2 separate regions of the Homo sapiens genome follow, and region 1 is linked to region 2. The links are contacts of gene promoters, found by promoter capture Hi-C in blood cells and fetal thymus (Javierre and others, 2016). All regions are on one chromosome and are shown on one strand. Each heading gives the region's core, a stretch centred on a gene start or on the middle of the fragment in contact. The rest is flanking DNA. Distances are from core to core; before and after follow the strand shown.

What was found. The method cuts DNA at HindIII sites, captures the fragments that hold promoters and counts their contacts. A CHiCAGO score of 5 or more calls a contact.
Region 1: a fragment that was not itself captured here is called in contact with the fragment with the promoter of NKD1-AS1 in region 2 in 7 of 17 cell types (non-activated CD4 T cells, total CD8 T cells, total CD4 T cells and 4 more); the score reaches 7.6 in non-activated CD4 T cells.

Annotation. Positions count from the first base shown.
Region 1 is chr16:50,555,408-50,561,771 of GRCh38, forward strand. The region is part of intron 3 of NKD1 (NKD inhibitor of Wnt signaling pathway 1); the gene reads left to right. Among named protein-coding and RNA genes, the nearest start is that of NKD1, 10 kb to the left of the region's middle. The HindIII fragment of the contact is 5,014 bases long and covers 2,107-6,364 here.
Region 2 is chr16:50,611,723-50,618,314 of GRCh38, forward strand. NKD1-AS1 (NKD1 antisense RNA 1) reads right to left here and starts at 1,928. Exons shown (of 3, transcript XR_007065197.1): 1 at 1,869-1,928. All of the region lies in intron 4 of NKD1 (NKD inhibitor of Wnt signaling pathway 1), which reads left to right. The HindIII fragment of the contact is 2,641 bases long and covers 294-2,934 here.

The sequences.
Region 1 (6,364 bases), core at 3,364-5,863, 54 kb before region 2:
TCAGCGAGCGTGCTGCCCCTGTGTCATGGACAGGTCCTTGGGGGCTCAACCTGGCCTGTTGGGGTTGGTGGCCCTGCTGTTGTGTTGGGGGAGGAGGTCAGCTGCAGGGCTGGAAGCTTAGCTGTCAGGGCTGCGGAGGACCTGTGGGGTGAGGTTGCTGCTCAAGAAGGAGGCTCTTCAGGGACCAGGGAACAAGAGGGAGTGACCAGCAAACCCCAGAGAGAGCTAATCATGCCCCAGAACTGCAGCGCGCCTGTGCCTATGGAAGGAGGGTCCCCCATGTGGGCTGAGCAGGGCTGTCCGAGACAGGATGTGCAGCCCCCCGGTACTGGTGAGCTGGGGGGTCCTGCAGCCCCATGGCTGCGAATCACAAGATGCTTGGATTTAGACACTTTTGGACTTTTCACATCACTTGTTGGATTCCAAACCAGGCACTTCTGGCTGCCTCCCTGCCTTCCCTCTCTCTTGCCCACTCACACGTGTTCTTTTTGCCGCTCTTGTCTCTCACAGACGTTCTTTCTCTTCCTCTCCCTCCCCACGTCCCTTCCCCCCCACCCTCTCCCTGAGGAAGGAAAAAATTCAGTCTCTCACAAACAAAATATCTGCCATTCCATCGGAGGGAGAACTGAGGCAGGAGCCCAGAATATCCTGGAAGGAACGCAAGCGAGAGTTGAAGGCCTCAGTTGTTTAATCTGGAAGGAGGACTTTGATGTCACCCTGCTCCGTTTATCCTGGGAAGCTTCCCGCTGCTTCATGGCTTCGACTCTCTGTGTGAAAGATGGCTGAGCTCCTCCAGGGGCTGGAGGCAAGCCTGAGCAGCTCCGAAGGGCAGCCTGGTGATGCTGCGCTCCTGCCAAGCCCAGGTGGGGTGGAGAACCTTTTCTAAACAAGCACTTCCAGAGACATAAGTAATTCTTTGATAGCTTCCTGGGAAGGCAGAAGGGAGCTGTTTAGCCTTGTGGGCACCAGTCGTGGGGCTCTGGGAGGAAAGCCTCAGGTCTCCGCACTGAAGTCATCCCCAGCCTCAGAGCGGTGGCGGCTTGGCCCGCCGGGGTGGGTCCTGGATGTGTTTGTTTAGAGGGCTCTGAGGCATGGGTCTGGGCTTTGCTTTCCTTACTTGTTAAGTCACATGGGCTGTGGCGTGTGCGTGTGGCCGACGCCTTTCAGAGGACACCAGGGTACTGAGAGGGCTTCACATTGGTGTGGCCTCAGCCAAAGGCTCCCTGCCTGGGCTTCAGATTCTCCAGCTGAGAAGTAGAATAACATCATGATAATTTAGCACTATCTATTGAGTGCATTCATTCATGCATCTGCAGTAGGGTTTTTTTTTTTTTTTTTTTTTTAAATTTAGAGACAGGGACTCACTGTGTTGCCCAGGCTGGCCTTAAACTCCTGGCCTCAAATGATCCTCCTGCCTTGGCCTCCCAAAGTGCTGGGATTGCAGGCGTGAACCACTGTGCCCAGCCTTATATATATTTTTTAACTTTTATTTTAGGTTCAAGGTACATGTACAGGTTTGTTCTACAGGTAAATTGTGTGTCATGGGAGTTTCGTGTGCAGGTTATTTCATCCCCCAGGTAATAAGCACAGTACCCAACAGGTAGTTTTAGATCTTCAGCCTCCTCCCACCCTGCACCCTCCAGTAGGCCCTCATGTCTCTTGGAGTGGGCATTGAGTACCTGCTTTAGGCCAGGGACACCTGTGCTTGGTACCTAGAGTGAAGGCCTTGATTTCATGGAACTTACCATCTTGTAGGAAAACAGAAATATTTTCATAAACAAGTTGTGCAATTTAAGTTGTGATATGTGCCTCCAAAAAGTACTGGATGTTTTGAGAACATGTACCAGGGATCAGAACTCATCTGGGGTGTTTTTCATTCCACAAATATTTGACTGCTTTATCTATCCCACGTGCTGTGCTTAGGGTGTTGTGGAAATTGTGAGGACTAGGACATAGTTCTTGCCTCTGTGAGAGTGGAACTAAGCTCTCCCCATGGCCTTTCATCGATTTTTCTTCTCTTATTGCATTGGTTAGAATCTCATTGCATTGGTTAGAATCTCATACTCTGTTTAATAACTACCAAGTATGATACTTTTTGTTTAAGAAAGCTTCCTTCAACTCCTGGCTTTCTGAGCTTTGTAAAATCAGGAATAATTATTGAATTTTGTCACATGCTGTTGGGATGCAGATGGAATGCATCATTCTTTGCTAATGTGGTGTGTGATTTGTATGCTTGATTTACATTGCTGGATTTCCTAGTGCAACCTTCTTGGCCCTCCGAAATTCTTTGTCATGATAGATTATTCTTTTAAATGTGACCGCATTTGATAGGCTAATATTTTACTTTGGATCTTTGCATGAAGTACTCAGTGCAAGTTAACTGTTAAAGTTATAAAACCATAAGGGAAGCACAGGGCTGTGGAGGTTGGGGAGGGTTTTTTTGAAGGAAGTGGGCATGTGAGTAGGGATTTGAAGAATGGTAAGACTGAGATCAGGGGTTAGAAACTTAAGGACCTACAGGGGCCAGAGAGGTCATATGAATGAATGCCACAGGCTCAGTGGGAGACATCTGAGAGGGGTGGGAACCGGGGTGCCCCCGGGGAACACACACCCTGCCTCAAGGGGGCAGTGCCACTCAACCCCAGCCAATCACTGCCATGTGGGAATATGGCCCTGGTGTTGCCACACGGGCTGATCATTAAGAAAATCCAGCTGTCTGAATTTTTATGTGAAACTTTTCCAATTTAAAAAATTATTGTTAACCAATTAAAATTTTTAGAAAACACCTTCTTTGGGTGACTCAGACGACTGGATTTGGCCTGTTAGTACACTGGCTTGTGTTTGCTGATTTAGACCTTTAAGATTCTGATGGTGGTGGTGGTAGAGAAGCAGTATGTTAGTGATAAAAGGACACACGAGTGAGTATCATATGGACTCAACATTGTGCCTAATACTTTCCATGCATTCTCTTGTAGAATCCTCACAACTGCCTTAGGTATTATTCCGCTATCGCATAGATGAGGAGGCAGGCCCAGCAAATTAGAGTCACTAGCCCAGCCAGGGAGAGCTGGATGCAGGCTGCATCCAAGGCAGAGAGTGCAGGCCAAGCAAAGGCTCATTGCCAGGAAGCTGTGCACAGTGTATTTCAGTCTGGTGGGAGAGCAATGTGGGAGGCACAGGAAGGGTAAGTAAAGATGTGGGCTGGGATGGGAGGCCGAGGTTGGTGGAGGCCGAGGTTGGTGGATCACCTGAGGTCAGGAGTTTGAGACCAGCCTGGCCAACATGACGAAACCCCGTCTCTGCTAAAAATACAAAAAAAAAAAAAAAAAGAAAGAAAAGAAAGAAAAAAAAAATAGCCGGGCATGGTGGCAGGCACCTGTAATCCCAGCTACTTGGGAGGCTGAAGCAGGAGAATTCCTTGAACCCGGGAGATGGAGGTTGCAGTGAGCCAAGATCGTGCCATTGCACTCCAGCCTGGGTGACAAGAGTGAAACTCTGTCTCAAACAAACAAACAAACAAACAAACAACAAAACAAAGATGTGGGCTGGGAGACTTTATGCTGAAGACCAGCATGTGCCCATAGAAGGTGCCAGAGGTGTGCTTAGAACTTGCAGAATCAGACTTCCTGGGTCTGAGTCCCAGCTGCACTTCTCCCCAGCTCGGTGGCCTTGGGCCAAGTGATGGCTCATCTCTGATTCTCAGTTTTCACATCTGTGGAATGGGTAGAGTAATGGTTCCTACCTCATTGGGTTGTTTTAAGGGTAGAAATGGGTTCATTTCAGCAAGTTAAAGAATAAAGGAGATGTCACCCCTTCTTTTGCAGCTTGCCAGTGTTGTTTGCTAGTGATCACCTGGATGTGTGCTCAGTGTGGTACCAGTGTGCTAAGTGCAGTGAAGGAAAAGGATGGGGAAGGAGAATAACGGAGGATTCTACTTCAGATTAGGGAGTGATGCGTAAGTCGTTAAGACCCAAAGAATAAATAGGAAATAGCTAGGTGGGGAAAGGTTTATTAAAAATATTCCAGGCAGAAGGCACGGGATGTGCAAAGGGCAAGAGGCATGCAGGGTTGGTGCACAGAGAAAGTGTTCAGCCTCCTTCTCGGTGTCTGACTTGGAACCACATTCCAGTCTCTGAGGTGTTAGAGCAGAACTATGTGGTGCAGCAGCAGGGAGTGGGCAGTGCCTGCTGGGCTGGGTGGTACCACTGTATGTTGCATCCCGTCATGAGGCCTTGTCTCCTTGCCGCAAGTCTTCCATGAAGTGTTACTGGTGTCTGTGGACTCCAGCTTTCTGGTCAGGTTGGAAGAGGTAGGGAGGAGAACCTCTCAGTCACAAGAAATAGTGTCACCCTGGAGCGGATTGGCTGGCCTGCTGGGCTGCCCAAGCCTTCTGGCCTTGAGCATAGAGCTGGGGTCCTGAGGAGGGGAGAGGCAGAGCATAAAAGGACCCTGTTAGCAGGATGGGGCTGTCTTCCCTCAGGCCACAGCCTCCCTAATGGGCTCAGGCCGGAGGATGTTTTTCTAACTTCAGAAGGCTGCGTGGGCTGGTGGGCCCCTCACTCAGAGGCCTCGGCTTGCGGTGGCTCCAGTGAGTGGGTTTGGGGGTGCTGGTGTGTGGTGCCATGCCCATTCCATGCCTGGTTTCCAGAGGGAGCCTTGTTCCAGGACAGTTTTTGACCCTGACTTTGTTGTTTTACCCTTCTTTCCCCCTTCAAAGGCAAAAAGATGATTGAAGAGAACTACTATAATCCAGGAACAAAGTTGCCTTTTCAGCGGGCACTGGGGACTTTCTCTGCTTCCTCCCTGCCCTGGAAAGTCCAAAGGCACCCACTGCCTCAGCTGGTCCTGGGCACGTGCCTGCTTTCTCAGTGGCTGCAGGCTCAGTGTGCCCGCGAGCTGCCCACTGTGTGCATAGCCCCGTGCTGAGTCTGGGAGCTGCAGCCCGAGGAGGAGGTGGTAACAGCGTAGCTGCTGCTTGCTGCGTGTCTGCTGTGTGCCAGGCTCTGGGCCAAGCACTGTTCATAGTGCTGGATTCTCAGAGCACTGTTATGAGGCCGCTGTTATTATTATGCCCATCTTACCCATAGGGAAACTGAGGCTTTAAAGAAGTCAACCATATTGCCCAAGGTCACTTAACTTGGAAGTGGAATCTTGCTTCAGCAAGATTCAAATTCAGATCACTCAGTGTGATTTTAGAGCCATCTTAAATCAGTTTAGGCGAGTTTTTTTTTTTTTTTCAACTGTATGTCTCAGCCCCATTCATGGTTCATGACATCAATTTAGTGACCAAAATGAAATAGAGTAAAAATATGAGAAAACATTATATATAGTAAGAGTAAATATTGTTTTGTGTAATTTTTTGTTCTAGTTAAAAAAAATGTATACACACACTTTACACACACCTATACCCAAACCCATCTATCTATCTATCTATCTATCTATCTATCTATCTATCTACAGCAGAGGCATATTGTAAAATATAATTCTTACTATAGGTCATAATCAGAGTATTAGAAAAACGCTGGTGTGGGTCACTGGTGCAGGCCCTGAGCCTGAATGCCTGGTTTTGAGCCCTGGCTCTACTTCTCACTAGCAGTGTGACCTAGGGCAACTTTCCTGACCTCTCTGTGCTTTCTGAGCTGTTTGGTTTGTTGACTTTTGGGCCTGGGTCAGTGCTCCCAGGGATGCTGTGGGTGCTTGCTGCTGGCTCACTCCCTTTGCTTAGGGAATGAAGAGGATGAGCAGTCCCATGGAGGGGGGGCCCATGGCTTCTCCCCTGAGAAGCCAACAGCAGCAGCTTCATCCCAGGAGAAACACAGACATGGCTCAGTCATCAGGGGTTGGACACAATGCTGCGCTGGGAACCCTGAGCCTGGGGGTGCCTCCAGCTTAGCTATGAGGTATCTATTATGACCTCTCCTGCCTTCTGCTTCCTCCTCTCAAAAATGCATTAAAGGAAAGGAGAAGGCTTTGTTTCTACTGCTGTAAAAAAAAAAAAAAAGTCCAAAGATTAGTGACTTGATCACTTTGTGACTTGCTTAAGAGTATGCACTTTGGACCAAGCCTGGGAGGGTCAACTTGTCTGTGGCTCCATGTAGCACAGTTAGGGTGGCTCTAACAGCAAGGGTCTGACTGCAGCAGCTCCAAATAAGTGACATGTCTGGGGCTTCAGTTCTCTTCTAGTTGGCCTCACCTCATGAGTAGCTTGGGCTTCCTCACAGTATGGCAGTCTCAGGGTAATCAGATTTACATGGTGGCTGTCTTTCCCAAGAGTATAGAAGCAAAAACGGCCAGGACTCTTTAAGGTTTAGGCCTGGAATTAGCAACAACACATTCTCTTCATTAAAGCAAGTCACAGGTCCAG
Region 2 (6,592 bases), core at 678-3,177:
CTCAGACCCCATTCCAGCCTGGCTTACCCACACTCACTGTGTGACCTTGGGTGAGTCACTTCCCTGTGGCTCAACTTCCTCACTGGGTTCCTTGTAGCACTTCTTTGCCAGGGTTATTGTGAAGACAATGAGGTGATGGATGTAGGTCGCAAGGGTGGCCCTGGTACAGAGTAAGTGCCCAGCACACTTGAGCTGCCATGATTCTTGTTTCCTGGGTTCAGTTTTCTTGAAGAGGTGTCAGCCCGTGTTTATAATCATTTACCTAGCCCAGATCAAAGAGGACCTCTTTGCAAAGCTTCTTTAATCCTGTTAGAATCTCCAAAGGCCTCCCCGTACTCCTGGTGCCTGGAGTAGGGTCTGGCATGCTGTATGTGCTCAATAAATAAACACTCACTGAAGAAGGAAAGTCAATACCCTGTAGTCACTGAAAGCAGGTGACCTCTCCCTCTGCCTCACTGAAAGCAGGTGACCCCTCCCTCCGGCCTCTCAGGCAGGACCTGTGTACCTGTGTTGGGGCCTGGGCCAGTCTGTCCAGGCTCCCAGGGGTCAGATGTTGGGCAAAGGAACTTGGGAGGCCTGTACTTCCTTTCATCTGTAGTTGGAAAACTGAAGCCCAGAGAGGGAAGTGACCTGTCCAGGGTCACACAGCAGACTGAGAACAGAATCTGGCCCCTCACTCCTCACCATTCAGTATGTGCTGGGCATTTGCTGCAGCTAGGGGCTCTGCTGGGCCCTGGGTTCACAGGCACGAGCAAGGTAGGCAGGCCCAGCAGTCACGACATTCACAGGAGGGAGGCAGGGATGAATACATAAATCTGCGAAGGAGCATGGAAGTTTCTAGTAGTGGTTCTCTGCTAAGACGTAAAACCCAGGGAGAGGTAGAGTGAGGAGGCTTTTCTGAGAAGGTGATGTTTCAGCTGAGATGCAGATGCCAGGAAGGAGCCAGCCATGGAAGAATGTAGGGGGAGAGCAGCTATGAGTGAGCAGAACCCCAGAGTGGAGGGAACTTGGTGTTTGGGGAAGAACAAAAAGGAGGCCGATGTGGCATCAGGAATGAGAGTGGGGTGGTCGGCAAGTGTGGGACCACGCCCTTAGGTTGCGTGGTTCTGCCCAGATGGTTGGGTGGGTGACTGCTGGATTCTGACCTCTGTTTTAAGAAGTTAATTCTGGCTTCTGGGAGGGACTGCCCATGGGCAGGGAGGAAGAGGGCAATGAAACCAGGAGGTGACTGCAGGGTCGCAGGCGAGAGGAGATGGTGCTGGCCTAGCCTGGGAGCTTGGGGCTGGGGAGAGGTCCATGGGGCTGGAGGTTGGAGCTGGTGAGAAGGGGGTTGAGGGAACGAGAGAGATCAGGGATGCATCTTAGACTTTTGGTTTCAGGAACTAAGGATTTGGCGGTGTCACTTCTGAGGTGGAGGTTTTGGCGGGTGACCATCAAGCCTCCCGTTTTTGGACCAGTTGGGTTCAAGATGCCCATTTAACATCCAAGGAGAGGTACCGAGGAGGCCGTGGGATACCTGGTGATTGGAGCTTGGGGTTCAAGGAGCAGTTGGGCAAGAAACAGAGAGAGAGAGCGAGTCAAGACTTCTCAGGAAGTAGCCACGGACATTGCCCGGGACTCTCGGGCAAGGCTCCTCAATACACAGGGCTGGCGGTGGCTTCCCAGGAAGGCTGGGAGGAAGAGGAGTTCATGGGAAGGCAGCAGGGACCCCCAGATGGAGGGGCAGGTGCCCATGCCCCGCCGGCTCCTCTCCCTCAGTTCAGAGCCTGTCCTGTCGGGGGGTGTCAGCGGCCCTGACTCTCCACTCCCCTACAGTCCCCCCAGAAGCTGAGTTGCAGCGGTGACAGAGAACAAGCGGACTTTGTTACCTTGGCAGTTTCTCTCAAGTCTGCTCCTCATAAAAGCTCAGCTGGAACAGTGGAAATTCTGACTTGTGTCAGATACCGGAGAGGCTTTAATAGTTTCAAGTAGCTCGGGGTTAGATTGTAAAAGCCGAATTTCATCACATGTTTTAACTTGGGTGGGGGCGGGCGGGGGAGAGTGGAAGGGACGTGATATTTTTAGCCCACAGAAGGCTTTTTCTCCCCTTTCCCCTTCTCTCCCGGGGCTTCCCCCTCCCTCCCTGAACAGATGTTTCGTCTCAATCCTGTTCAGATGTCAAAGCCGAGTGGCCACCAGCCTTATGCTCTGATGAGGAAAAAAAGGCCAGAATGTTATTTGTTGAGAAGGATTTCCTCCCCTACCCGCTTTTCCCCCTTTTTTGTTTCCCCTCAGTTACAATTGGTCCATAAGCAAAATCTAGTGGCAGTAAAATGCAGCTGGGAGGCAGGATGGTGGAGAAGAAGTCCCTGGTGGCATTTCTGGTCTCAGGAAGGGGCAGACACCCACAGGTGAAAAAGCTGGAAATCACCCTAGAGGGACTGCCCTGGGTGAGTGAATTACTGCTGTGGTGCTGGTGCTGGTGGTTTTTCCTAAAAAGCAGGATCTCAGAGAGACGGATTTGTTAAGTCAGGATTCTTTCGGTTCTTTTGGAAACTCACTTAAACTTTTGGCTCATGAAATTGAAAAATCCTAGGGTAGATCTTGCCTAAAAAGGCCTGTTTGGATTCTGGAGCTAAAACCATGTCATGGACACATGCACGCACACACACACACTCACACACACACGTATACTCACACATTCACACACATGTCTCGCTCGCTGCCCCTCTCTCTCCCTCTCCATCATCTCTCCCTCTGTCCCCTGGTGGCTTCTCCCCCACAGGGGGCAAGGGTGGCAGTTCCCAGCTCTGGGCACTCCCATCCTATGAGCACAGCCCTGTCAGGTGGAAGAAAGTTCCCAGGTCACAGGGGTTCTTGCACATGTTGGACTCACTTTATTGACCACTTTACTGGTCACTTGACCAGGGTAGATCTAGGTTTTATGGGACCTGAAGCTTTCTGGGGCCAAACCAAAATAAATATCTCACCAACTCAGTCTCTCCTTAGCTCATGTCCAGAAATGCCTGTATTTCCCCTAGTATCACCTCACACAGGCAAAGGATGTCAGAATGGTTAGATGACAATCTTAATAGATTGAGGATAAAATGCCTAATTTGGAAAATGTTACAAATACAAACACATATGACCACATAAACACCTTGCAAAGACCCATCCTGACTTGGAAAGGGCCCGTGTAGGTGAGAGGGCCCAGAAGCCTAGCTTCATTAGCTTCTTCATAAACTCTTCTTTCATACTGACCTAGGACCAGCCACGTGGCCTTCAGGATGAAACAAGCTGGGTCAGGTAGGGGTACTGAGTGCAGTGTGACCCTGGAGTGGGATCAGTCTCCATAAACTAGATAGACTGAGAGTGGGGGATGAGTAGCTCTGGGGAGGAAAGCCAGATGCTATCATCAGAAGGAGGAGAAGGATTGCTGGACAGGCAGGAACAGGTGTCAGCTATTGTGGTCTGAGAGAGTGGACAGGCCAGTGGTTGAGGAGTTGGGAAACTGGGATTTAGTTCTCTTTGTTCCACAACTTCTGGGTTCAAATCCTGGTTCTGCTACTTACCGTTGTTTCATTTTGATGATGCTGCTGATGATGCAGCACCTATAGTGTGATAGACACTGCACTATAGACATATATATCTCAGGGTATAGATATTGGGCTGATGGAAGATTCTGATGATTAAATGAGTGATATAATGATGGTGTAATAAGGCTCACTGAGCAGGGAAGCCTAACCTAGCCCTGAGGGTGTGACAGCATGCTGCTCAGAGGAAGGGAGGCTTAAACTGAAGACCTGAAGGATGAGTGGGAATTGCAGAGCTGGAAAGAGTGTTCTTGGCAGGGATAACAGCGTGAGAGCATGGCAGGCTCAGAAAAGGGAAAGCAGTTCCACAGAGAGACGGGACTGAGAGGTGGCAGCAGCCGGGTCGTGGAAGCCTTTGGACCCCTCCTTAGGGGAAAGGGGGCCACTGGAGGGGTTTAAGCAGGGAAACGGCATAATCAGTTTTGGTTTTTAAGCTCAGTTTCCTCTTTTGTACGATGCCAACAGTAGCACACCCTGCACAGTGTTAAGAGGACTTAATGGAATAATGTGTGGTACTACTAACTTCACCAGCCTCTCCATGCAGCCCACCACAGTATGTGGCTGTGTTTACAAACAGAGGTGGGATCGCTAGGACCCTCATTCCCTAAGGAGAGCCTGATACAGATACTGCAAGAAACCATTTGGCCTGGAATGCACATATGATATCTTTCTCTTTTTACTGGCAGCAGATTTACCCGCCTAATTATATTTGGCAGAGGCTAATATTAAAATTCATCTGCATTCCCTCGAACAGCTGCTGTCAGAAGGTTGTGGACTCAAACATCTTGGCAAGCAACCCTGAGACTAAAATATTTGCAGCAGATAATCTGTACGTGGACGATTGAGAAAGGACTGTGGATATGTCAGGGCGAGCATCCAGACTCTAGCAAGGAAGTTCTGGCTTGTGTTAAATCTTACATTGTATTCACTGAGAAGAACTTGCCAGGTAACTAGGCTAAGAGAGGGGTCTGCCATGCAATTGAATTGTTAGTAATTTCTGGTCTTTAGTGGGGCTGATTTAGTCATAACTGTGTTTCAAATTTGTCTCTTCTTTCCAAGTTTCATATGCACCAGGCCTTTCTGGATTGTGTTAAGATAAGCTGGCATTTACTGGTATCATCCCAGGTTTGGATTTTTATGTAAATTTCAACTCCCCACCTCCCCATGGCACTTCCCAGTCTCCATCAAGGCAGAAGGTATGGCATATTTGTTATGTAGCCAAGCTTCCTTATGCCTACCTGTAGAATGTGCTGTAGTTCAGCAGGCCTGGCGGAATCTCTGCCCTGTGCACGTATGGGAAGTGCTAGGCATTGGGCAACCCGGGAGCAGAAGCCTAGAAGGCGCCAGATCTCAAGAAACTTGCTTTCTGGCTGTGCAGATGTGGAGGCTCCTGTGAAGCAATCAGAAGGTCCCAGATAGGACTGTACAGAATAAAGTGCTAGACTGAATGGCGGGAGACAGCACCCCACTAGCTCCGGATGCATTCATGCAAATTAGAAAAAAGCTGCCCCTCCTCAAGACACCTTTCTGCCATCTGTCCAAAGGATGTCATAAGCAATACACATATCTAGGGTATTGGTCATATGAGTGGCACCACCTGGGGTTGTACAGTGCACAGCCTGCTTCTTGGATCCGGTCTCCTAGTGACCTCAAGTGACCCCAGACCAAGGGGAAGAGCCCCGAGGAGCTCACCCTGTTGTACTGTTGAGGAGGACAGGTCTGTTTTATTTCACAGGCCTTCTTCTCTTGCTGTTTGGGTGGCGCCAGCTGTCAGCAGCTTGGGCTGGGTGGGCTGTGCCATCCTGCTCCCTGGGTCACTGCCATTTGCCAGGGTAAACAGTCCCGAGTGACTGTGGCTCTCACAGCATGCGGTCCCCAAGGAGCCTCCCATTGGGCCCATGGGGAGGCGGGAGGGGTGTCTAGACCCACAGTCAAAGTTGTCACCATTCAGGTATTTCCTCACTCTTCTTCTTTCGCTCTCTCTTCCTCCCCACCCCTCCCTTTTTTAAACTGGGGGAGGGGAGAGGGAAGAGACTGTCTTTGATCTCAGCGGAGGAAAAAAGTCTGTTCAGGCTTTTGGCTAACACAACAAACAGTGTTTAAAATTTAACTTTGCTTAATTAATTAGTAATTCTGTTTAATGCTGTCTGATCTCCCTCCAAAAGGTATTTTGAAGCTTGAGAAGGGAACATCAAAGGGAGCCGGGTGAAGATGGTCAAGTAATGCCTTTAATCTGGCAGTTGCTGAGGGTGGAGAGCTGCCAGGCTGGGAGCTAATGGGGAGAGAACCGTCATTTGGTAAACACAGCAAGCTGACTCCTCGTGGCTGTGGTGTGAGGAGGGACAGGGAGCAGTTTCCAAAGAGAGGGAACTCCACAAACCATTACCAACCCCCCAGATTCATATGGGCTGACAATAGGCCTTAAGAAAGCAGAGTTGACATTTTCTTTCTTCCACAGCCACTGTATGGTTGGGCAGGTTGTGTACTGCACAAGGATTTCCAGCCAAGCAGGCAAGTAATAGGTGAAACTGTCTGTGCCCTGCTCATCAAGCACATATCCTGGTGGAAGTAGAGGGTGGCACACATCTAAAGCAGCAATCAATCCACAGACTTTTTCATGAAGGGCCGGATAGTATGTATTTTAGACTTTGTGGGCTCTGTTGCAACAGTTCAACTCTGCTGTCACAGAGTGAAAGAAGCCATGGACAATGCAGATGAGCATGGCTGTGTCCCAATAAAACTTTATTTACAAAAACAGGAGGTGGGCCAGGTTTGGCTCAGCAAGTGTAGTTTGCCACCTCCTGCTCTAAGTCACCCAAAAGTGCTTCTTAGGCAAGTGAAAGGCCTTTTTTCCCCACCCGGTCTCCTGCTTTCCTTTTTTCTTCCAAATGAGCAGTGTCTCCTATAGTTCCTCAGACTTTCAATTGAAGAGTGATCAGTATGATCAGCACCCCCTGAAATTAGGCCCCCAAAAGATAATTTCTCAAGCGGAAAAATGGCTGGGCTAAACAGGAATCAGA